Regions from separate parts of the Homo sapiens genome. Here all the other regions are linked to region 1. The links are contacts of gene promoters, found by promoter capture Hi-C in blood cells and fetal thymus (Javierre and others, 2016). All regions are on one chromosome and are shown on one strand. The core of a region is centred on a gene start or on the middle of the fragment in contact, and the rest is flanking DNA. Distances in the headings are between cores, read along the strand shown.

What was found. The method cuts DNA at HindIII sites, captures the fragments that hold promoters and counts their contacts. A CHiCAGO score of 5 or more calls a contact.
Region 2: a contact is called between a fragment that was not itself captured here and the fragment with the promoter of ADH5 in region 1, in 1 of 17 cell types (fetal thymus). The highest score is 10.1, in fetal thymus.
Region 3: a contact is called between a fragment that was not itself captured here and the fragment with the promoter of ADH5 in region 1, in 1 of 17 cell types (fetal thymus). The highest score is 5.2, in fetal thymus.

Annotation. Positions count from the first base shown.
Region 1 is chr4:99,087,196-99,090,127 of GRCh38, reverse strand. ADH5 (alcohol dehydrogenase 5 (class III), chi polypeptide) reads left to right here and starts at 1,340. Exons shown (of 9, transcript NM_000671.4): 1 at 1,340-1,439. The coding sequence starts at 1,428. LOC100507053 (a long non-coding RNA gene) reads right to left here and starts at 1,271. Exons shown (of 10, transcript NR_037884.1): 1 at 844-1,271. RefSeq lists a silencer at 1,308-1,357 and a promoter at 142-1,395. The HindIII fragment of the contact is 7,789 bases long and covers 1-1,612 here.
Region 2 is chr4:95,153,584-95,156,283 of GRCh38, reverse strand. It overlaps BMPR1B (bone morphogenetic protein receptor type 1B), which reads right to left. Exons shown (of 13, transcript NM_001203.3): 13 at 1-1,736. The coding sequence ends at 1,611. Among named protein-coding and RNA genes, the nearest start is that of UNC5C, 390 kb to the left of the region's middle. The HindIII fragment of the contact is 1,070 bases long and covers 812-1,881 here.
Region 3 is chr4:103,194,878-103,197,601 of GRCh38, reverse strand. CENPE (centromere protein E) reads left to right here. Exons shown (of 49, transcript NM_001813.3): 2 at 752-843; 3 at 1,350-1,439; 4 at 1,564-1,682; 5 at 2,369-2,488. Among named protein-coding and RNA genes, the nearest start is that of CENPE, 2.1 kb to the left of the region's middle. The HindIII fragment of the contact is 1,020 bases long and covers 851-1,870 here.

The sequences.
Region 1 (2,932 bases), core at 91-2,590:
TGTCAACACACAGAGGAAAGAGTCCCTATAAGGAGAAAATATTAATAGGAGTTTTAGGAGTTGCATTCGATTGTGAGATATCCTAATGGAGACAGAAATCCAGTAGGCAGTTACATGTCCAAGTCTGGAGTTTAGGGGAGCCATCCTGATTGGAGATAATAATCTGGTAGTCATCTTTCCATAAATAGACGTTAAAAGCCAAAGTGTGAGTGAGAGAGTGGAGTGAAAGGACGGAAAGACTTTGGACAATCTTACCATATGTACCCGGAAAAGAGCCAAGAAAAAGACTGAAAGACAGAAAAGAGCAGTGTGTCTGACAGAGCTATTTTAACAAAATTCAGCGTTTACAACAGAGTTTAAGAGTAAACTGGCAGGCCAGGTGCGGTGGCTCATGCCCGTAATCCCAGCACTTTGGGAGGCTGAGGTGGGTGAATCACTTGAGGTTAGGAGTTCAAGACCAGACTGGCATACATGGTGAGACCAACCCCCTGCCCCCACTCCCAATCTCTACTAAAAATACAAAATTGAGCCAGCGTGGTGGCGTGTGCCTGTGATCCCAACTACTCAGGAGGCTGAGGCACGAGAATCACTTGAACCTAGGAGGCGGAGGTTGCAGTGACCCGAGATCGCGCCACTGCACTCCAGCCTGGGCGACAGTGCGAGACTCCGTCTCAAACAAACAAAGAAAGAGTAAACCGACAAATACTACATTCTCTCTCTCTACACTCTGGCCCACTCTTAACACAAAAAACTGTCCAGGATCAGGAGACTTTTTGTTCTCCTCATCTCCTCCTTCCAAAGTTCTCTGCCCACGTTCTACTGTCTCCCCAAAATCCTACCTACCCTTCAGGAACTGCTGGAATGGGAGCTTGGGAAGTTTCAGCAAACTCCTCTCTCCTCCTTTGTGGCCCCTTTATTCCCAAAGCTGTGTCCTCTCCCTATGACGAGTCCCTTGAGGGGCTGTATCTTACTCCTTGTGTCTCCAAGCACACATAATGTGTATTAGGGGAGGAAGCATTCGCCAGTGGAGCACAAAGCTGTTGCAGGTCTCTTACTGGTTCTCAGGCGCTTTCAGTGAAATTCCCGTTCCCTCACCGTCCACATCTGTAATTTGCAAGTCTTATCTACGATAACTGCTGTAAAGTTACACGGGGAAGCCCTTTCCCGACAAAAAAAACGAGTTCTGCAACAAGTCCGTCGGATTTTAGCAATGAAACCGGCGCCGTGCAGCCTCGCCGGCGAGTGCACCCTGGAACGCACAACTTAGCGGCACGCACCACAGCTCGAGCACCGCCCTTCCGGTTGGAGCCATTGCAAGCCCCCCCCACGCCCCGCCCCCCTCGCTAGGCGCTCGCCACGCCCATGCCTCCGTCGCTGCGCGGCCCACCCCGGATGTCAGCCCCCCGCGCCGACCAGAATCCGTGAACATGGCGAACGAGGTAGGGCCCGTTGAGCGGAGGGCCCTGAGTCCAAGGGAGGGAGTGCATGGCATGGGACTAGGCTGCTATCCTCGGGGGCGCGCGAGGCTCGGCGCCCAAGACGGGATCTGGCTCTTGGTTCTGAAACTGGGCCCCCAGCGAGCGGCTCAGAGGGGCAGAAAGAGAAGGAAGCTTTGTCTCGGCTCTTCAGTTGGGAAGCAGCTTTCTTTGCTGCTTCTGGGACAGTCGGAACGGGGTGGGGGGGTGGGAGAGCCGGAGAGTGGGGGGCAGGGGCTGGTCAGGTCGGTATCCCAGTGGAAATGGCTTAGGAGCGGCCACGCATTGCTTCTTACACGAAATTAAGTAACTCGCTCTGGGTCATTCTTGCAGCTTGCATACTTGGCAGAGCTGCAGCCAGATCCCGTGCTTCTAACTCCTAGGTTGCTTGTGTTGCATAATTGAGCCTACGCCTTAATTATTGTGCCTCCAAGGAGTGTATTTTGGAAAGACCCCTACGTCCCTTTCAGAAACATTTTCGAGCACTTAAATACCAAGAGATTTATATTCCCTCTAGTCCTCACGTAACAAACACCTCTGCGAGGTGTTATCCCCATCTTACCAAAAACTGAGGTTTGAGGTTGGTTGTGCTTGGTCACACCAACGATGGCGAGCTGGGATTCCGACCCAGGTCTGCTCCTCTATGACAAATTCATAAAATACAAATTAGACAGTAAAGAAAGGCAGAAATTACGAATAACATACTCAGTCTAAAGTTGCTGATTATTTTAATGTTTTGCAATTTTGGACATTTTCTAGTAAGACAAATGGCCTTAAACATATTGGAGTTTGAAAGAAATAAACTCTAAACAGTCTTTCAGACTTAAACTGGTAGTTGCTTTTCCTTATTACTGAGTGTCTTTATTCAGAGAAGGTGAAAGATTATAATTGTTACTATAGTTCAAATGTTGAAGTAGGGCCATTTCCCGCGGATTTAGAGTGGGGCTTTGTTTTGCTTAGAATTGTCAGTAAAAGGAAAAGGTTAGGCTCCATTAAGACATTTTTTAAAGGGGAGCAGGCCATCAAATTTAGTATTCTTGTTTCTTTGGATTCCTATGTTGCATAACTTAATTGTTAGTATTCTGAATCTGACTTGTGGAGTTGAAATTTATGGCACATTGAAATGAAAAAGGTTCTAATGCAGTGTCTGATTCTTTGTACTATGAGATTTAATATCTGCAATTTAATTTTAAAAACGATCATTTCCACATTTCCAACCTCACCAATTTACAGAGGCCATTTCCCTCCCCCCCCCCTCCCCCGCCAGTTCAGACGGAGTTTCGCTCTTTGTTTCCCAGGCTGGAGTGCGATAGCGCGATCTTGGGTCACTGCAACCTTTGCCTCCCGGGTTCAAGCGATTCTCCTGTCTCAGCCTCCCGAGTAGCTGGGATTACCGGCGCCCGTCACCATGCTCGGTATTTTTGTATTTTTAGTAGAGACGGGGTTTCGCCATAGTG
Region 2 (2,700 bases), core at 97-2,596, 3.9 Mb after region 1:
CCACTAACAGAATTTCTAAGAAGCAAAAGAAAACCACAGAAAGGAAATGTATATGAATAAAGTTGAGCAGGATGTGTACAACTTTAAACTGTATTGTATTCATGTTGCTAAACAATATTGGCCTTCTCGATGATTTTATTCATGTTGCTCCAAAGTTAAAACCCTGTAGAACTAAGTAGGTGAAGAGATATTTTGTATAAGTGCCACAGAAGAGAAAATATAATAAATTAAATAGTGAATTGAGCATCACTAGAATAAAATAAAATGAGTAGGCATTCCTAAGATGTGAAATGATCACCTAAGATATACATGCTCCAACCATATTGATTTTAGAACAAAACACAGCAGCCCATAACAGTTTGTGGCCTCTACTAACTGTCCTCTGCTGTCCCATCTAGAGGTTATGTTTCTCTATTTTTAAAATAAAATGTAGTTAAATTAGCCTGACGGATGTTTCCTCTCTATCCCTTATCTCAGACACATACAAAACAGACAGACAATAACAAAAAGACATCATCTTTATCTGTACAAAATAAGGTATGCACACTTTTTTCTTTGTGCTTCTGAGATTGGCTCCTTTGCATATATAAGATACAAGCCATCTGCACGATCACCCTCATTTCCTATCTTTGTTGACATGTTCCTCTTACAACACAAGAGCAAATTACCTCTATTTGAAAGCACCCTGTCTTCAACACAGCTCATGACAATTTTATTTAATATTGATCCTTTGAATGAGAGATCAAAAGCATGCACAGGTCAATCCTCTGCACATTAAAAAAAAAAAAAAAAAAAAAAAAAAAAAAAAGCTTTCTTTGTGTTTAATGAAAAGGGTTTTACCATGAAAGAGATGCCTAACTCAATCAGAAACAGAAGTGGATCTGAAGAACACCTATCAACAATTACTTCTATTAGAGTCACATAAACCTTCATTTGTTCCATATTGCCTGAAGCTGCAAAAGGCCACCTGCAGGAATTCCAAATGTGGTCCTAGACAGGCGGTGTTTGTACCCAGTGCATTCACATTACCATAGCGGCCCCAAATGCAGGGATGGCCAAAGTGGTCTGAGGAGGCCAAGACGGGGTGGGGAGTATGTTTAAGATGAGTTCCGTTCTATGTCCTCCAACTTAGACTGTCTTTTGGTTCACAGAGTGCAACAATATTTTACCAATGGAAAAACAAGTATTTTAATTTACCTTCCAGCAGAGTTCCTGGGAAGAATTTTGTTGTTATTATTTAAACTATAATACTATAACCCTTAAACCATCCACATTATCTGTTTTATTTTGGCAAAATGAAAGCATCTTAAAAAAAAAAAAAGGCAATCACAAAATACAGGGCTTTCTTAGAAAGCAACATGCATCATATCTTGAACAAGTTACCCAAGCGGTTTCTCCGTCCTACAAACAGACATGGATCAATCTCTCCTTCTGGGAGCTTCTCTGTCTTTGCCCAGGTCGCTCCCTGAGAGGTGAGGTCTGAACCCACTGGGAAGCAGGACGATGTTCAAGGCTTGTACTGTGGATGCTTATTTGATGTCTTTTGCTCTGCCCACAAACAGAAGAGTACCTGTTGGCTTTCTGCAGAGATGCTTACTTTTCCTCTCCTATCAGAGTTTAATGTCCTGGGACTCTGACATTTTGGCAAGTGTTTTCTTAACCCGCAGGGCTGTCAGCCTTGATGCAGGATTGTGAGCCCAGCATTCTGTCATGAGTTTTCCCATCTGCCTTAGACACTGAGGAAGAGAAATGTTAGAAAAATGTATCATCTGCAAGGCTGGCACCTGTTACAATGTAGCTTTTTAGTTTTAGGTTCATTAAGTTTGAATATATTTTTAAAAGGTACCCTTAAAACCATGTAGAAGTAAAATTCTGTAAGCTTTTTTCATGCAAAATTATATATGACTAAAACAGATGTTCATGTCTTCTTTGTGATAGAAACAAGCAGGTGGTTCTGCTGATTGTAGAAAGGTGTCTTTGAAATTAGTGTTAAGCAAACATAAAAATACCCAGGGAGTCTGTATTCCACTCAATACTCCCAGATTGTTTATAACACTTGATAAGTTTTAATCTTTTATCTAATTCCATACTATGCAAACAAACACAGTTATTCCTAAATCATAGCTGTCTGCTGCAGTAATAGCATCACACTGCACCATTTAACAAGATTAATGACCTGTGCACAGCATCACTAAAACTTTCTCCTGTGGTACATCAATTATTGGTCTTCCTATTGAAAAGTACAATTTCACTTCATAAGAAATCCTCAGTGAAGAGATATCAAGTAACACCAAAAGCCCACAATAACAGAGCTCCAGCATCTCATAAAGCTTTCTGCACAGCTTGCTGGAAAACGTATATATTATTTAGCATTTTAGTAACCAGACACAAAACCAATGAGCCAAAGGTGTTTTTGTTTTTGTTGTTGTTTGTTTATTTGTTTTAAGACAGGGTCTCGGTCTGTCGAGTGCAGTGTCATGATCCTGGCTCATTGCAACCTCCGCCTTCCGGGTTCAAGCAATTCTCGTGCATCAATCTCCCGAGTAGGTGGGAATACAGGTGTGCACCAACACACTAGGCTATTGTTTGTATTTTTTAATAGAGATGGGTTTTCACTATATTGGCCAGGCTGGTCTCGAACTTCTGGACTCAAGTGATCCACCCGCCTCGGCCTGCCAAAGTGCCGGGATTACAGATGTG
Region 3 (2,724 bases), core at 111-2,610, 4.1 Mb before region 1:
TAACACTTTGTGTGTGTGAGAAATTTTTATTGAACACGGGGTTTAATAAATGCAAATACCAAGATCAGGAATTTCCTATTTTTGAGGAGCTCATTATCTAATGCCTTAAACGGCTACATAAAGAAACCATTAGGATACCTTTTGACAAGTGTTATGATGGGCAGGTAGAGAATGTTTGCTAGAGGAGTTATTAGCCCATCAGAGACGAAAGCTTCCCGTGGGGTGAACTGGTGTCAGAAAAGTCTTGACGCTTTTCATGAGTGAAATAATCCCTATGTTACTTAATGGAAAGGGAAGTCAGAGTATTCCAGGCACAGAGAGGTTACATCTGTCATTTGGGGAAGACCTTCAGGTAGAGCTTAGGATGTATCTAGGAATTCAGAGGAAAATGGAAGAGAGAAATGACATGATCTAGGACTCGTGCCCTGCTGAGGATTTCATAAGTTTCCAAAAGGTTTTAAGAATTTTAAGCAAGACAGACATAATCAGAGTTGCATTTTGAATCCATCCCTTTGTTTACCAGTACTGGGGGAGAGGGTGAGAATGAAAGCCTTCACAAGAAAACACTTTTGAGGCGGCAGAAGGTCACTGAAGCTCCATTTAAGAGTTGAATCCTCAAAGATGGACTTTCTGTCATTCTCTTATGTTACTATCTTTCAAAATATTCTTTAGCAGGTGAAATCTTTTCAATTATTCCTCCTATGACATGACTTTTATGACTGGTTAAAATGCGGTGTTTTTATTCTTTTAGAGAAGAATCACTTGGAGAAACTGCCCAAGTTTACTGGAAAACTGACAATAATGTCATTTATCAAGTTGATGGAAGTAAATCCTTCAATTTTGGTAAGCTTATAATAGCATCAAAAGTTACCTTGTTATCCTTTTGCTATTAAAAGTACAAAAGGCTTATCAATAATATTAGATTTGTCACTAAAGATTAGACTAAGCCTTCTATAAACTGCTTCACTGGAAACAAAATTGTTTATCCATCATGTATTTAAGTAAGGTAACCAATTGGCATTTAAAACAGTTATAATCACAGTTATCTAATTTGCATCTAGGTAGATTCCAGACCCCCATGTGCAAACACTATACCTTATTGCCTCTTGAAAGAACATAGAAAAGTTGACTTGTAGTGTATTTTTTGTGTGTGAAAATGAACTCATTTTACCTTAGGGAAGGGTATTTTCAGAGAACCAAAAAGTTGAAAAAAATACTGTGTCTTAAATAGTTGATCATCCTACATTCTGACAGTTTTACTTTTGGGAATAATTACTAATTTGGAATGAAAACACAGTGGACTCATTTGATTTAACTTCTGTGTTGTTGTTGTTGTTGTTGTTGTTTAGATCGTGTCTTTCATGGTAATGAAACTACCAAAAATGTGTATGAAGAAATAGCAGCACCAATCATCGATTCTGCCATACAAGGCTACAATGGTTTGTATTCACTCAATGCTGCAGAAACATTTTAGTCTTGGGCGTCTGTGCAACAAGCATGCATAGTTTTACCCATTATAGGTTTGTTTTTAATCTTTGCGTATGTGTGTTTTGTTTTTTGCAGGTACTATATTTGCCTATGGACAGACTGCTTCAGGAAAAACATATACCATGATGGGTTCAGAAGATCATTTGGGAGTTATACCCAGGGCAATTCATGACATTTTCCAAAAAATTAAGAAGGTAAGTAACTTAACTGGATTTCTAGTACGTACAGGTAAAACTAGTAAAAACTGGGTACCAGTCTTAGTGTATTTCTCTTGTAAAGATGAAAGGAAGTAGATTTACAGTTATTGTTTGATTATCCATGGGGAAAGAAGAAAGGCATAGCATAGATTCACTTTTATCTCCACAACTTACTTTATAAAGCTTAAAGTTCTTTTATTCTTTCTCTTGAATTCTGCAACAATAATACTCTCAACAAAAAGTAGGCATTAAGGAACAAGAAAATGTTATCAGAATGGTTAGCTCCACCTAACCATTTAACTATCAGTGATTATAAAGGAACAGTAGAAAGTGGATGTAGGTAAAAAAAGAAGGGAAGCAGAAAGCCAGAATAGGCAACCGAGTTAGTTGGTTTCAAATTAGCATTTTTATTAAAATAAGAACATCTTTTGAGAGGGTTTTATTTTGAGCCTAGAGTTTGAGCCTAGAGTTGGTGTTCTCCCAGCTTTATGGTACTTCACTTTTCATTATTTCTGTAACGATGCTTTTATATTTTTGTGTTCATTATTTTGTCAACAGTAGAACCAAGGGGTTTCTTAGTTTGTTTTACATACATTTTACCTCTTTAAGCACATGAGCATTTAGCATTAGGTTTTCACAATTGGATGCTTCCTGGTGTTTTTATATAATTTTTTTTCTTCTAGTTTCCTGATAGGGAATTTCTCTTACGTGTATCTTACATGGAAATATACAATGAAACCATTACAGATTTACTCTGTGGCACTCAAAAAATGAAACCTTTAATTATTCGAGAAGATGTCAATGTGAGTAGCAGACTTAAGGGAGCTTTAAAATTGACTGACTTATTGAGATTATTGTTCTTGAATGTTTACCTTTAATTTCTATAGTTTTTAAAGTGTCTCCTATTTCTATAGTATGTGAGGGTTTTTTTGAAGTATTTATATTCATCTTTTAAACAATATGAATAGTTTTAAAATACTGACAGCTCTAATATTTTGGTTTAAGTGTAAAAATAGCAAGTTGGAAGTATCAGGTTAGA